Regions from separate parts of the Homo sapiens genome. Here regions 1 and 2 are each linked to region 3. Evidence: promoter capture Hi-C in 16 types of primary human blood cells and fetal thymus (Javierre and others, 2016). All regions are on one chromosome and are shown on one strand. Each heading gives the region's core, a stretch centred on a gene start or on the middle of the fragment in contact. The rest is flanking DNA. Distances are from core to core; before and after follow the strand shown. Region 1 has its middle 89 kb from the start of TPRG1-AS1. Region 2 has its middle 42 kb from the start of TPRG1. Region 3 holds the start of RTP4 (receptor transporter protein 4).

Region 1 (4,927 bases), core at 714-3,213, 1.7 Mb before region 3:
CACTCCCACCAGCAGTGCATGAGGATTCTCATTTTTTCACATCTGTGCCAACAATGATACCATCTGACTTTCTCATTTTTACCAATCTGATGGGTGTAAAATGAGTCTCATTATGGTTTTAATTTATAGCTCTCTCATTACTTATGATGTTGGGGATGTCTTCATGAGCATGTAAGTAATTTGGGTTTGCCCTTCTGTGAATTGTCTATTCATTTTTTTTTTTTTTTTGCCAATTACTCTCTTTTCTTTGTTGATTTGCAGGAATTGCTTAATTATTCTAGGTATTAATCCCTTGTCAGTTTTAAATGTTGTAATTATCTTCCCCCAGTCTGTCTCCCATCTGTTACCTTTATCTACAGTGTCCTTCAATGAACAGAAATTCATAATTATTATGTATCAGATCCATTCATTTTTTTCCCATTATACTTTTAATTTTGGGAGTATTGTTCCAGAAATCATTCCCCACCCCGAAGTTGCCAAGGTACTTTCCATTATTTTCTCACCAGTTTATCTTTACATTTTACATACTAATGTTTAATTCAAAATTTTATCAAATTTTACTTTTCTCCATTTAACAAGCCAGTTTTGCCAATACTATATGCTTTTAAAAAGCCTATCTTTCCTCCATTGATTTATTATATCAATTGATTATATATGAAGACATCATACAATATATTCCAAACTGAAAAGTAAAAGAGGACATTATTTTTAATTTTGCTAGGCCAATAGGCATAAATGCAGTAAAATTTTCACAGGCAAATTAAAATAGTCACCTTAATTTTATACCATATTCCATAAGGGACGGTTTATGGTTCTTTATCCCATTGTTTTACTTGTCTGATCATGTGGCAGGCTATTTTTTTTTCTTTTATGGTTATATAATAATAGAGGGTAGGGAAGGTATTCCTTTTTGCTCTTCCAAAATTATCATTTACTTATGGACTTTTGTTTTTCACAATATATTTTAGACCTAAGTTTCTCTGTATAAGTTTTGATTGGAATTCTATACATTTTTTATTTAATTTGGCAAAATTTGACCTCTTTAAAATACTAAGTTGCCCCATCCATGAACATGGTTTATCTCTGTATTCATTCAGATCTTGTATGCCTTTTGATAGAGATGGTAGTTTCTCCAAAACAATCTTTAGACTTCTTAATAGGTTAATATATTTATATCTTAAAGTTTTGCTGGTATATTATACTTGATGGATATATCTTACTAATTTACTACTGGTAGAAAATATTGTTGGTTGTTTAATATATTTTATCCAGAAATACTCTTACTAGTTGTATACAAAATCTTGGAGAAGACTGTTAGTTTCCATAAATGATTAAATCATCTGAAGCTCTTTCATCTTCCAGCAGTGATATCTCATTGTATTTCTTGTTTCATTATATTTGGTTATGTCCCACTAGTACTAGGTTAACTAGTAGTGGCGACATAATGTTTTCTTGTCTAATATTAAATATACCTTAAGTTTCTTCTTTAAAAAATACTTACTGAAAGTTGTTCATATACAGCCTTTAACTAGTTAATAAGGTTCTCATTTATGCCTGATTTTGTGAAAAGTTGTATTATAAACAGAAATTACATTTTATTTAATAATTTTTCTACTTATATTGAGCTAAACATATGATTTGTTTCCTTAGTAAATTACTACTGTTACATTGATAGAGCTTCTGATATGAAATCCTCCTTATGTTACTGAGGTAAATCATACATGTTCATCATGTTTTTTTCTTTTCTCAAATAATATTTTAGTGTGTGATCTAATGATTTTCGTAGAATTTTTACACACAAATTTATAAATAAATTTGTTCTATAATTTTTTATAGACAATATTTTTATCAAGTAAAAATAATTACTGTTTCATGAGTATCAAAGAATGATTAAGGCACTTTGGCCTTTTCTATTATTCTATTATCTAGGACAACTTGTATGAGGAAAGGAGGGTGATTTTTTTTTTAAATATTTGTTTCGTTTTTTTTTTCAGAAGTCACTTATAAATCATTTGGGCCTCGGATTTTGGTGGGGCAGGAGTAGGAGTAAGAATGGGGACTTTTTTGATAACTATGTCAGTTTATCTTATGATTTTTAGACCTTTCAAATTTTTTATTTCTTCTTCTGCTGATTCTGGAATTTTTAAAAAATGATTTGGTTTCATTTAATCGGTTTATAGATCTCATTAATAGTATTTACTGTCTTTATAATCTTCATTACATCTATAATTATCCATCTGTACATTACATCTAAATTTACATCACCTTTTTTATTCTATATTTTGCTAATTTTCAACTTTTTGTTACCAGTGTTACCAGATACCTGTATATGTTACTCATCTTTCCAAAGAATTCAAACTTATTTGTCTGTTGTCACGTATATGGTGTTATTATTTCTTATTTCTTGAATTTTATATTATCTTTATTATTTTATTATTCCTCCTTTGTCTGGGATAGCATTATGTTGTTGCTCTTTTTATATTTTTACATATGCAAACAATTATAGCTTCCTTATCTCCTATAACTTATCTCAACTTCATGGGTGTCCATTCCCTTAACTTTTTCCACACATTAGTGGGGTTTTGTAATTTTTATTTTAGGTTCATGGGGTACATGTGCAGGTTTCTTACATGTGTAAATTGCATGACACTGAGATTTGGTGTACAAATGATCCTGTCACCCAAGTAGTGAGCATAGTACCCAACAGTACTAATTTTACACTAGTAGTTTCTCAACCCTAGCCCCATTCTACCCTCCCCTCTCTAGTGGTCCCCATGTTTATTGTTCCCATCTTTGTGTCTGTGTGTACTCAATGTTTAGCTCCCACTTACAAATGAGAACATGCAGTATGTGTTTTTCTGTTCCTTCATTAATTCACTTAAGATAATGACCATCCATGTTGCTGCAAAGGACAGGATTTTGTTTTTTTTCATAGGTGCATAATATTCCATGGTGTATATGGACCATATTTTCTTTATCCAATCCACTAGTAATGGGCATCTAGATTGATTCCATGTCTTTCCTATTGTGAATAGTGCTTCAATGAACATACAAGTGCATTTGTCTTTTTGGTAGAACAATTTATTTTCCTCTGGGTATAGACCCAGTAAGGGGATTGCTGGGTAGAATGGTAGTTCTGTTTTAAGTTCTTCGAGAAATCTCAAAACTACTTTCCACGCTAGATGCACTAATTTACATTCCCACTAACAGTGTATAAGTGTTTCCTTTTCTCTGCAACTTCCCCAACATCTGTTATTTTTTGACATTTTAGTAATGGCCATTCTGACTAGTATGAGTTGGTATCTCATTGTAGTTTTTGATTCACTCTAATGAATAGTGATGTACTTTTTAATATATTTGTTGGTCACATGTATGCCTTCTTTTGAGAAGTGTCTATTCATGTCTTCTGCCCATTTTAATGGGGTTACTTGGTTTTTGCTTGCTGGATTAAGTTCCTTATAGATTCTAGATAGTACACATATGTCAGATGCATAGTTTGCCAATATTTTCTCCCATTCTGTATGATGCCTGTTTATTGACAGTTTATTTTGCTGTGCAGAAAGAAGCTCTTTAGTTTAATCAGGTCACATTTGTCAATTTTTGTTTTTGTTGCAATTGTTTTTGGGGACTTAGTCATAAATTATTTTCCAAGGTGATGTACAGAATGATATTTCCTAGGTTTGCTTCTAGGTTTTTATAGTTTGAGGTCTTACATTTAAGTCTTTAATCCATCTTGAGTTAATTTTTGTATATGGTGAAAGGTAGGGGTTCAGTTTCAATCTTCCGCATATGACTAGCCAGTTATCCCAGTACCATTAATTAAGTAAGAAGTCCTTTCCTTATTACTTGTTATTGTTGACTTTGTCAAATATCATATGGTTGTAGGTGTGTGGCTTTATTTCTGGGTTCTCAACCCTGTTCCATTGGTCTATGTGTCTGTTTTTATACTAGTACCATGCTGTTTTGTTACCGTAGCCTTGTAATATAGTTTGAAGTTTTTTAGTTTGATACCTCCAGCTTTGTCCTTTTTGCTTAGGATTGCTTTGTCTATTCAGGCTCTTTTTTGGTTCCACACAAATTTTAGAATAGTTTTTTCTAATTCTGCGGAAAATGACATTGGTAATTTGATAGAAATAGCATTGAATCTGTAAATTGCTTTGGGAAGTATAGCTCTTTTAACAATATTCATTCTTCTTATAAATGAGCATGGAATGTTTTTCCATTTGTTGGTGTCATCTCTGATTTCTTTCATCAGTGTTGTGTAATTGGTGTAAAGAGCTTTCACCTTAGCTTCTTCAGTGGAAAATGTATTTAATTATTATTCTTTTAGAGGTATTTAAAGCACCAGATTTCCTTCTAAATGTTCTTGTTTACAACTTTTATGTCCTTGCTTTTTCTTTTTTATCTGTTTAAACTAACAATTTTTAAAGACTCTCTAGCTCAGCTATTCATTTGCCTTTATTTCACCACAGTTCTGTCATTCTTGCTTTATGTATTTAAAACATAAGGTACATTGATATATTGTTTATGTTGCCAATATATTAAATCTATGATTTTTGACAATGATAACTTGTCTCCATTTCTAATGAGCCAATTTTGAAATTGCTATCTTAATTTGCTATCTGATCATATTTGTCTGATGTCATTTTATGTCTTTATTTTTAATCTTTCTGTAAGCTTTTGTTTAAATGCAGCTTATGCAGATAACATAAGTGTGGATCTTGTTTTTAATCCAATCTGAAAGGATCTGCTTTTGATTTTGACTGGTAAGATAATTCATTTATATTTATTGTAATTCCTCCTTTGTTAGAAATTACTTCTACCACATTTTGTGTTTCCATTTACAAAACTTCTATTTGTCCCCTTTTTTCCTCTCAACTTTCATTAGATAGATCAAATTTCCTTCTCGTTGCTTAGAAGTTATGCA
Region 2 (4,381 bases), core at 1,461-3,960, 1.8 Mb before region 3:
TTGCCATAAATCACATAGCAGTCACAGCAAATCTTAGTTAGTATTCCTTTGAATAGCTTGAGACAGAAATTAACCATTGGCTAAACGTTGGCTTTAAATAAAAAAGAAGCTTTCCTTAGTTTCTCCTGAGTTATACTGTGGCACTATTATGCTCTCCTTTTCCTTCTCAAGGAGATGAGAGACAAGCAGCACAAGCATAATAATATGCCTCTGGCTATAAGTTCAATGTCTCACTCTTAGCTTTGAAAGCCAATATAGGATAAGGATAAAGGTCAGTGCTGAAGGGTCTTAATGAGGACAATCTCAGAGGTCCCAGATCTGCCTCATTCACTGTGTATCTGCATTTTGGCTTCACCTGCAAAATGGGGGATTCGTTTATTGACTGAGCATTCTTAGAAAGTTGAAATGAGAAAATATGATCAGAAAGTGCTCAGTAATATAAAGTCCTACTGCATTTGTGAGAAGAATTATTATTATGTTATCAACTGCTATCTACATGGTCTTGTTTCCTTCAAGATGGAGATTTTATATTCTCAAATTATTGTAATTTTGCCTTTTAGTGAGCTTTTTTCTAGACAACTATATATATATAAACACACATATAGATACACGTATATACACGTATACATATACACACATGAATATTTATATATAATTCCAACATTAGAATGTATCATATTTACATAATATCTTAAATGATATTGCCTTTTTGTAATGTATAGAAGTAACTCATTAGGGATTTCTTTAGCACCAATTTAAACACTGAAGCCCAAGTTGGAATCTCCCTGAGCCCTCCCATCAGTGAAATTACTACATAATCGCTGCTCCGATTTAAAACATTTTTTAGAGTAAAAGGTAAGATTATTACTAATTATGCTGCCAAAAAGGATAAATCTGAACTGTTCTGGGCAAAGTGGGACATACGATCACGTTACTTAGAGTTGTGCAGAATTTTAGGTATTTTACCGGCCAGAGGTAACATGGCATGAGGTAAAAAGTACACATCTCATAATCAGAAGTTTTGGATCCTAGCTCAAGATCCACCATTGTTAGCAAAAATCACATATGGCCCTGAACCTCACTTTCCTCTTCTCTAAAACGCAGGTCATTCCCTGCATCTCAAACTCAGGTTATGACCTGCATTTGAGGAAGAATGTAAATGAAAGCCTGTTATAGCTGGAATATATAGCTCTACTGTTGGATTTTTTAAATAGTACTTTCAAATGGATTTTTTTAACAGACATTGGTACTCTTCACATCACATTATGAGTGTGTCCTAAGCAGTTCATATTCTGCCAGAATATATAAATGGTTGCTTGATAGTAGAGCCCTCACACTCACAGAAGGGAATCTACATTTGCCTCTAGTTTCATCCTATTACAGTCCATGTCAAGGGACTATTGGTGTTCTCTTTCATGCTGTTGTTCAGTTTTATTAACTACTGGTTAAAATAATCTGCTACGTTTTGACCATGCCAGGCCATTTTCCTCTGATAACATTTGAGTTACTGAGATTATACCTGTAAGGTCCATTTTAGGCCAGTTAAGAAAGCACTGAGAATAGAAGTTTAATTTTTTCAGGTACTACATGTAAGTTAATTCACCATTTCCTTAATGAGGAGCAATGTTTGAATTCTCTGAAGCCTCATAATCTCTCCCAGGCAGAAAGGAATCATGGATCCTAAAGACAGTCAAAATAGTTATTGTCTAGTTGAGTTCTTCTTTCTATAAATTATGAGAAAGATCTCATGGTGCTTATAACCCAACATACTCGGTACTATGCATGTGCCTAGAACCCATGGCACATGATGTATGTGCCAAGATCTGTACATACATCATGATCATCTGGTTGAGGATATTCTATATTACTCAGAGCTGAGCTTGCCATGAGTGCTTGATAACTGCATTACAATTCACTTATCATTGCCATAGTCATCAACATAATCATTTATCAGTTCAACATTCAGCTGAGAAGTTTTATTATCCCTCTTATGAAGAGTACCTTAAGTATTATCTTTGATTTATCAGCCTCCATGAGATTTTTTGTGCATTTCTCTTTCCTTCACAATGCCTAACACAAGGCCCTGTATAGAAGTAAATGTTTGATCAATGTTAGTAAAATAAGTAAAATTATTTTCATACTCCTTCCACTGTGCACATGAAACAATCATAACTTTACCATAGCTCAAAATCCTATACTTTTTTCTTCATCTGTGCTTTAGTGAAAAAAGCAATAGTCTTGGACTTAAAATAACTGAGCTTAAATAAGGAGTGAAGCGACAACTCTTTCCAACAGAGAGTTTCAGTTAATAAATATAGAGAAAATGAGGAAAATAGAAAATGACCATTACAACATCATAATAACAATGGCAACAAGCAAGATCCACCACAAGAGGCTAAAATTAGTTAATGAGGGAAAGTTTAAGTATAAACAGCATATTTTTATAGTCTCAAGTGTCACTTCTCAAAATATTTAGTAATAACAAAGGGGGAAACAGCAAATTTACAGTGGAAAAATCCAGCAGATGCCATCTTAACCAAGTGATCAGGGTTAATGTCACCAATAATATATATCAACATAATATACCTGGTATCACAGCCTGAGAAGGACGCATCCCTGCTGTGGTATCTTTTGCAATACCTTCAGTATAGTCCCAAGAAAAGATCAGAAAAACCAAAATTGAAGGACATTCTACAAAATAACTCATCAGTACTCTTCAAAAGTGTCACAATCATGAAAGAAAAGGAAAAACTGTGAGAAACTGTCACAGATGGCAGGAGACCTGACAACTAAGGCAACGTGGGACTCTGAATTGGAGCCTAGGAATAAGAAAGGACATTTGTGAAAAAATTGATGAAATATGTATAAAGTCCATACTTTAGTGAATAGTACTAAAGTTAATTTCTTAGTTTTTAATCATTGTTCCACGGGTAGATAAGATGTTAACATTAGGAGAAGTTGCTGCTGCTGTTGTTTTTGTTTTTGTTTTTCCTGAGTCTAAAATTATCTCAAAATAAGAAGTTTAAAAGATAACTGAGTTGGGCCGGGTGCGGCAGCTCACGCCTGTAATCCCAGCTACTCAGGAGGCTGAGGCAGAAGAATCGCTTGAACCCGGGAGGTGGAAGTTGCAGTGAGCCGAGATTGCGCCCTTGCACTCCAGCCTGGACAACAAGAGCGAAACTCTGTCTCAAAAAATAATGCTAATAATAAAATAACTGAGTTGAAGAGCCAACACTGACACCTACCAGTGGCATGTCCTTAGGTAAGTTACCTAAGCTCTCTCAGCCTAATCTTTCATTATCACTAAAATTAGAGAAATAGTACCAACATTTTGTTGATATGAGGTCAAAATGAGATAAGGAACATGAGGGCACTTCGAAAATTATAAACCCTTATAAAAATATCTTTATTACTTCTTAACTCTTTGACCTTTTCATCTCATTCAACTACAGTTGCCAGATAAAATATAGGACTCCAGTTAAATTTGAATTTCAGATAAACAACTTTTTTAGTATAAATATGTTTCATGTTATGGTTGAGACATACTTAAAACAATTTTTTTCTTTAGATGCCCTGTATTTTTATTTCCTAAATCTGATAAACCTACCTTGACCTGACTTCCAATACTCTGTCCCTTTCTTGAAGGTGTCTTCTTCCCTCCTCCAGGCCGTCTTTGCACAATACTGACAGCTCTGGTACAATGATTCCATGCAAGGGCCATGGCGGCCCATGCTCCAGGAGAGCTGCACAAAGGTTCATCTATCACAAGACTCTAGCAAAACGAATTCATTAAGAGTACACGACAAACAGGAATTTTCCCTTTCTGACTCATCTTGCAATTGTGCAAAATTTATTTTAAAATTTTTAAGTTATTTTTACTTCTCACTCCCCACAAAAGCCCAATGATAAAAATACTGTGCAGATTTTTTAAGCTGTGAGGAAAGATCAAAATCAGCAACAACCTATAAGATGGTCCTGGTAGACTAAAGTAGGAGCCCACCTCTTGGGACCTGTAGTGAGGTTTTGGGGAAAGAATGAAAGAGAAGAGGAGGAAGACTTTGAACACAACATTTTTACATATACCAGCTAAGCATATAGGGAATTATGCTTAACTTCACTTTCCTAGTGAGAAACTGAGTCTGAGGGAAGACAACTTAGACTCTACCTCACAAAGGCCATTGATTTCATACTTCTTTCTCTTCCATAACATCTGGACCTCAAGGTTCTACCCAGAGGCCATCTCTTTTGTGAGTTTACCTCCTTTATTCTCCAAATCAAGTATGGTTTGTTTTTCTCTGAATCTCCACATTGCTATAAAAAGACCTTAAGACCTTTACCTGGGAGTATAGCCACATGTTATTCACATTGTATTGATATCTCT
Region 3 (4,357 bases), core at 949-3,448:
GTTACACCCAAGTCTACCTCTTTGCTAGTAAAACATCTCCAGATGCCTCTGAGGGAAAATCATGTCTGCCATCTTCCAGAGAAACTTATTCCTAATTTTGGTCATAGAAAGCTTTGGTAAAGTATCTATTTTGATGCATACAATATAATTGGTCTTTATAATTTTATCCCATTTCATCTGTGAAGTAAGCACTATTAAACCCAATATCCAGATAAGGAAACTGAATCATGAAAAGGATACGCAACCTGCTTAAGGACACACAGGGTAAATGTTAGAGGCATGCTGCTAATCTCAGGCCATCTGAAATTCAACTCATTTACCTGCTGTAACACGTTGCCTCTGGTGAGTAGTGTAGCTAATCTCTCACACCTGGAGAAACAGACTGCATCCCTCATACCTGGGTTGAAGATCCAGTTTACATCAGGAAGACCTTGGGCAAAGCCCTTCCCTTCTATAACCCTCATTGTTTGAATCCATAAAAAAAAAATTCAAGGGTTATATTGGCAGCATCAAAAGAGACGATGTATGTGAAAACACTTTGTAAACTACAAAATGCTTTTCAAAAGCTGATTGATATTTTCCAAAAGTACACTGGTAGGTTGCTTTTCCGATCTCGAAATGACAATCAAATCAAATCATCCCAACAGGAGAAACACCTTCTTTCTGTTTGGAGGAGTGCCAAAACGTTGTAAGACATCATGAGTCCCTCAAAAAGCTCTGGCTGGTGTGGACAGAAATATTTACACATTTCCCTGGATTAGAAAGCAGAGCAACATGACTGCTATACGGGCTCTGACAAGTGACTTGAGAACTGTTCTGGAGACGTTTAGGAGGCTTTATTTAAACAACAGATTCTGCAGCTAAAAATAAGCATATACTGTATTTGATACAATATATAATAATACATATATTATTTATAAATTTATTATTCTGAAATACATAGTACATATGTATATATAATTATATATCATTTATGTATACATATACATATATATTTTATCTTATCCCATTATCTTATGGGAATGTATACGAAGGAATACTTACTCTGCCTAGGAGAACCAGAGAATGCTTTTAGGAGGAGGAGGCACTAGAGTGGGCCTTGAAGGATGAGCAGGGAGGGGTGAGGGGAGGGTCTGCTGAACAAGCAGAACTCCATGAACAAGAGTGTGGAAGTCTGAAGATGCATGGCATAGCTAATAGTCCATAAGGAATGGAGTAGGCCATACCTGAGGCAGGATGGGGCAGGCAGGCAAGCTGAGTAATAGGTCAGATGAAAACTATACCGAAGGTCCTGTGTGTCATTTAAAAATAAATTTGATTATCCAGGTCAGCAATTCTCACCCTCCTAACATGGTCAAGGAAACTGGTTCCTGCAACCTGGAGGCTTGCTGGGGGTTAAAGAGGGAAGTGGTGAGTAAGGGAGGAGTATTACTTGGTGACTCCATGAACTGGGTTTTAGATTTAGTTTTTGCAACATCATTCTATACTATTATCCCCAGGCCTTCAGTAAAGCAATGTTCAGAGTAACTGCTTGATCTTAGCCAATTCTTAAGATATTTAAAAAAAAAAAAAAGGCTCCGTCCCAGGCTTGTACTGAACAGTGCCAAGGCTTGGAGAGCTGGTGCAGCTGGGGGAAGCTGGTCAGGACTGCTGGGGAGACTGCAAAAGACTCTAGAGGTAGTCTGGAACAAATGACGTGGTGAGAAACTAGAAGGGAAAATTTATGGAATAGGGAGCCTTCTCCAGGGTTTTCCAGAAATATTTACGGAGGGAAACCTAGTAAAAGAAGAAACTTCCAGCAGTTAAACAAAATGGAGGTTTGGAGTCGTCTTATCATGTCGACCCTAAAGAGTACTATGACCACAATAGGATGGAGGCCCTGGTGACATTTACTCCTTCAACAAGCTCTCAGAGGAATAAATCATGCTAAGCTGAGCCTGAGCCTCTCTTCTCAGAAGAGCTATTGCCTGGGAAACCCACACTCACCAGCCAAATGCTCTCTGTTGGTATTGCTTCCACCCTTGAGCCAGGCAGTCTAGCTGAAGGTTGCCATCCAACTTCAGCGTCCATGTGGCCCGGGGTTTTGCCTCTTGGATTAGTTCTTGAAATGTCTGCTCCCAAGTCCAGAAATCTACAACCATTTTTTCCCTCTGAAGCTGAGAGAGTAGCTTTCAGGTTTGCTCGTTTCTCAGGAAGAGACAAACAGTTTCAGTTTCGGTGTTCGGTTCAGTTTCTGTTTCTGTGTATGGACATGAGCTGTTTTTTTCAACCTTCATTTTAGACTGTCTGAGTACACAGAACAAGTCTTTGTTCTGAAAACAGACAGCAGCAAAACTGTGTTAGTTAATAGGCCTTGCTGAGAGAGAGATAAAGAGCTCTGTTCTAGATTCTGGGGTCACATATAAATTCGCTTTTATTTTCTCTCTCTCATTTTTTATAATAGGCAAAGTGAGAGGTGACAGCATGCTGGTAGCCCTCGCAGCCCTCGCTCGCTCTCGGAGCCTCCTCGGCCTCGGTGCCCACTCTGGCCGCGCTGGAGGAGCCCTTCAGCCAGCCACTGCACTGTGGGAGCCCCTTCCTGGGTAGGCCAAAGCCAGAACCGGCTCCCTCAGCCTGCTGGGAGATGTGGAGGGAGAGGCACGGGCAGGAACCGGGGCTGCATGCAGGGCTTGCAGGCCAGCTAGAGTTCTGGGTGGGCGTGGGCTTGGCGGGCCCTGCACTCGGAGCGGCCGGCAGGCCCCCAGCCCTGGGCAGTGAAGTGCTTAGCACCTGGGCCAGCAGCTGCGGAGGGTGCGCCAGGTCCCCCAGCAGTGCCGGCCCACCGGCACTGAGCTCGATTTCTCGCTGGGCCTTAGCTGCCTCTCTGTGGGGCAGGGCTCGGGACCTGCAGCCCGCCATGCCTGAGTCTCCCCACCCTGGGCTCCTGCATGGCCCAAGCCTCCCCGACGAGTGCCACCCCCTGCTCCATGGTGCCTGGTCCCATCGACCGCCCAAGGGCAGAGAAGTGCGGGCACACACGCAGGACTGGCAGGCAGCTCCACCTGCTGCCCCCGGGGCGGGATCCACTGGGTGAAGCCAGCTGGGCTCCTGAGTCTAGTGGGGACTTGGAGAACCTTTATGTCTAGCTAAGGGATTGTGAATACACCAATGGGCACTCTGTATCTAGCTCAAGGTTTGTAAATGCACCAATCAGCACCCTGTGTCTAGCTCAGGGTTTGTGGATGCACCAATCAGCACCCTGTCAAAACGGACCAATCAGCTCTCTGTAAAACAGACCAATTGGCTCTCTGTAAAATGGACCAATCTGCAGGATGTGGGTGGGGCCAGATAAGAGAATAAAAGCAGGCTGCCCCAGCCAGCACTGACAACCGGCTCGGGTCCCCTTCCACGTGGTGGAAGATTTGTTCTTTTGGTTTTTGCAATGAATCTTGCTGCTGCGCAGTGTTTGGGTCTGCTCTGCCTTTATCAGCTGTTAACACTCACCCGGAAGGTCTGCAGCTTCACTCTTGAGCCAGCAAGACAATAAACCCACCAGAAGGAAGAAACTCAGAACACATCCGAACATCAGAAGGAACAAACTCTGGGCACTGTGCCTTTATGAGCTGTAACACTCACCATGAGGGTCGGTGGCTTCATTTTTGAAGTCAGTGAGACCAAGAACCCACCAATTCCGGACACAAAAGCACTGTTTTTGGCACTGGGAAAAGAGTATCCTGTAGCTAAGAAACAATTCCTGCCCCCACAGATGCTCACACCCAGGTGGAGACAGGGAGGTTAGGAGCAGCGTAGGGGAGCACGTGTTTAATGCTCATCTCCTACACCCCATGTATCCTCACCAGTCCCGCGAAGGATTATTCTTGGAGTTTTGCAGGTTAACTGCACAGAAAGCTGGGGTACTTTGTCCAAATCCCCTCAGTTAACGAGCAGTGGAAGTGAGACTTGAACCCGGGTCTGTGTGACTCCAAAACCTGCCATGTGTCCGCCCACCTCACTCCCTGAAGAGAAGCTGAGAATGGCATTTCAGGTTCCAGGCTGGCACACTGGAGCCAGTGTCAGAGGAACCGTAGGGAGATTTCCTGGGTCCTGAGGCAGGAGGTCAGCTGCATGAAGGGATTATCAAACTCTGCCCTCCACTCTGTAAATTATGTGGAAGGGCAAATACGCACAGGTGTGGGGGCCGTCTTTCAGTGGTAGGATACAGAGAATTCCCATTTTGGGGTAAGGGATTGAGATGAGATGACCTTTAAAGACACTTGTAAGTCTAAAACGCGGAGATTCCAGAGAGTAAGCTTTGTCCTCCTGGGGCTTAAATTCAAATAGGGGAGATAGGACAAGCAGGATGCTTACTTAGGTCTTT

Evidence for each region. The method cuts DNA at HindIII sites, captures the fragments that hold promoters and counts their contacts. A CHiCAGO score of 5 or more calls a contact.
Region 1: a fragment that was not itself captured here is called in contact with the fragment with the promoter of RTP4 in region 3 in 1 of 17 cell types (activated CD4 T cells); the score reaches 6.3 in activated CD4 T cells.
Region 2: a fragment that was not itself captured here is called in contact with the fragment with the promoter of RTP4 in region 3 in 2 of 17 cell types (naive CD8 T cells and naive B cells); the score reaches 7.1 in naive CD8 T cells.

What each region holds. Positions count from the first base shown.
Region 1 is chr3:189,034,096-189,039,022 of GRCh38, reverse strand. It overlaps a transcript of TPRG1 not described here. Among named protein-coding and RNA genes, the nearest start is that of TPRG1-AS1, 89 kb to the right of the region's middle. The HindIII fragment of the contact is 5,433 bases long and covers 1-4,679 here.
Region 2 is chr3:189,127,595-189,131,975 of GRCh38, reverse strand. It overlaps a transcript of TPRG1 not described here. Among named protein-coding and RNA genes, the nearest start is that of TPRG1, 42 kb to the left of the region's middle. RefSeq lists enhancers at 1-173, 2,762-3,961. The HindIII fragment of the contact is 5,198 bases long and covers 112-4,381 here.
Region 3 is chr3:187,366,226-187,370,582 of GRCh38, reverse strand. RTP4 (receptor transporter protein 4) reads right to left here and starts at 2,198. Exons shown (of 2, transcript NM_022147.3): 1 at 1,987-2,198. The coding sequence starts at 2,141. RefSeq lists an enhancer at 1,988-2,337. The HindIII fragment of the contact is 4,178 bases long and covers 114-4,291 here.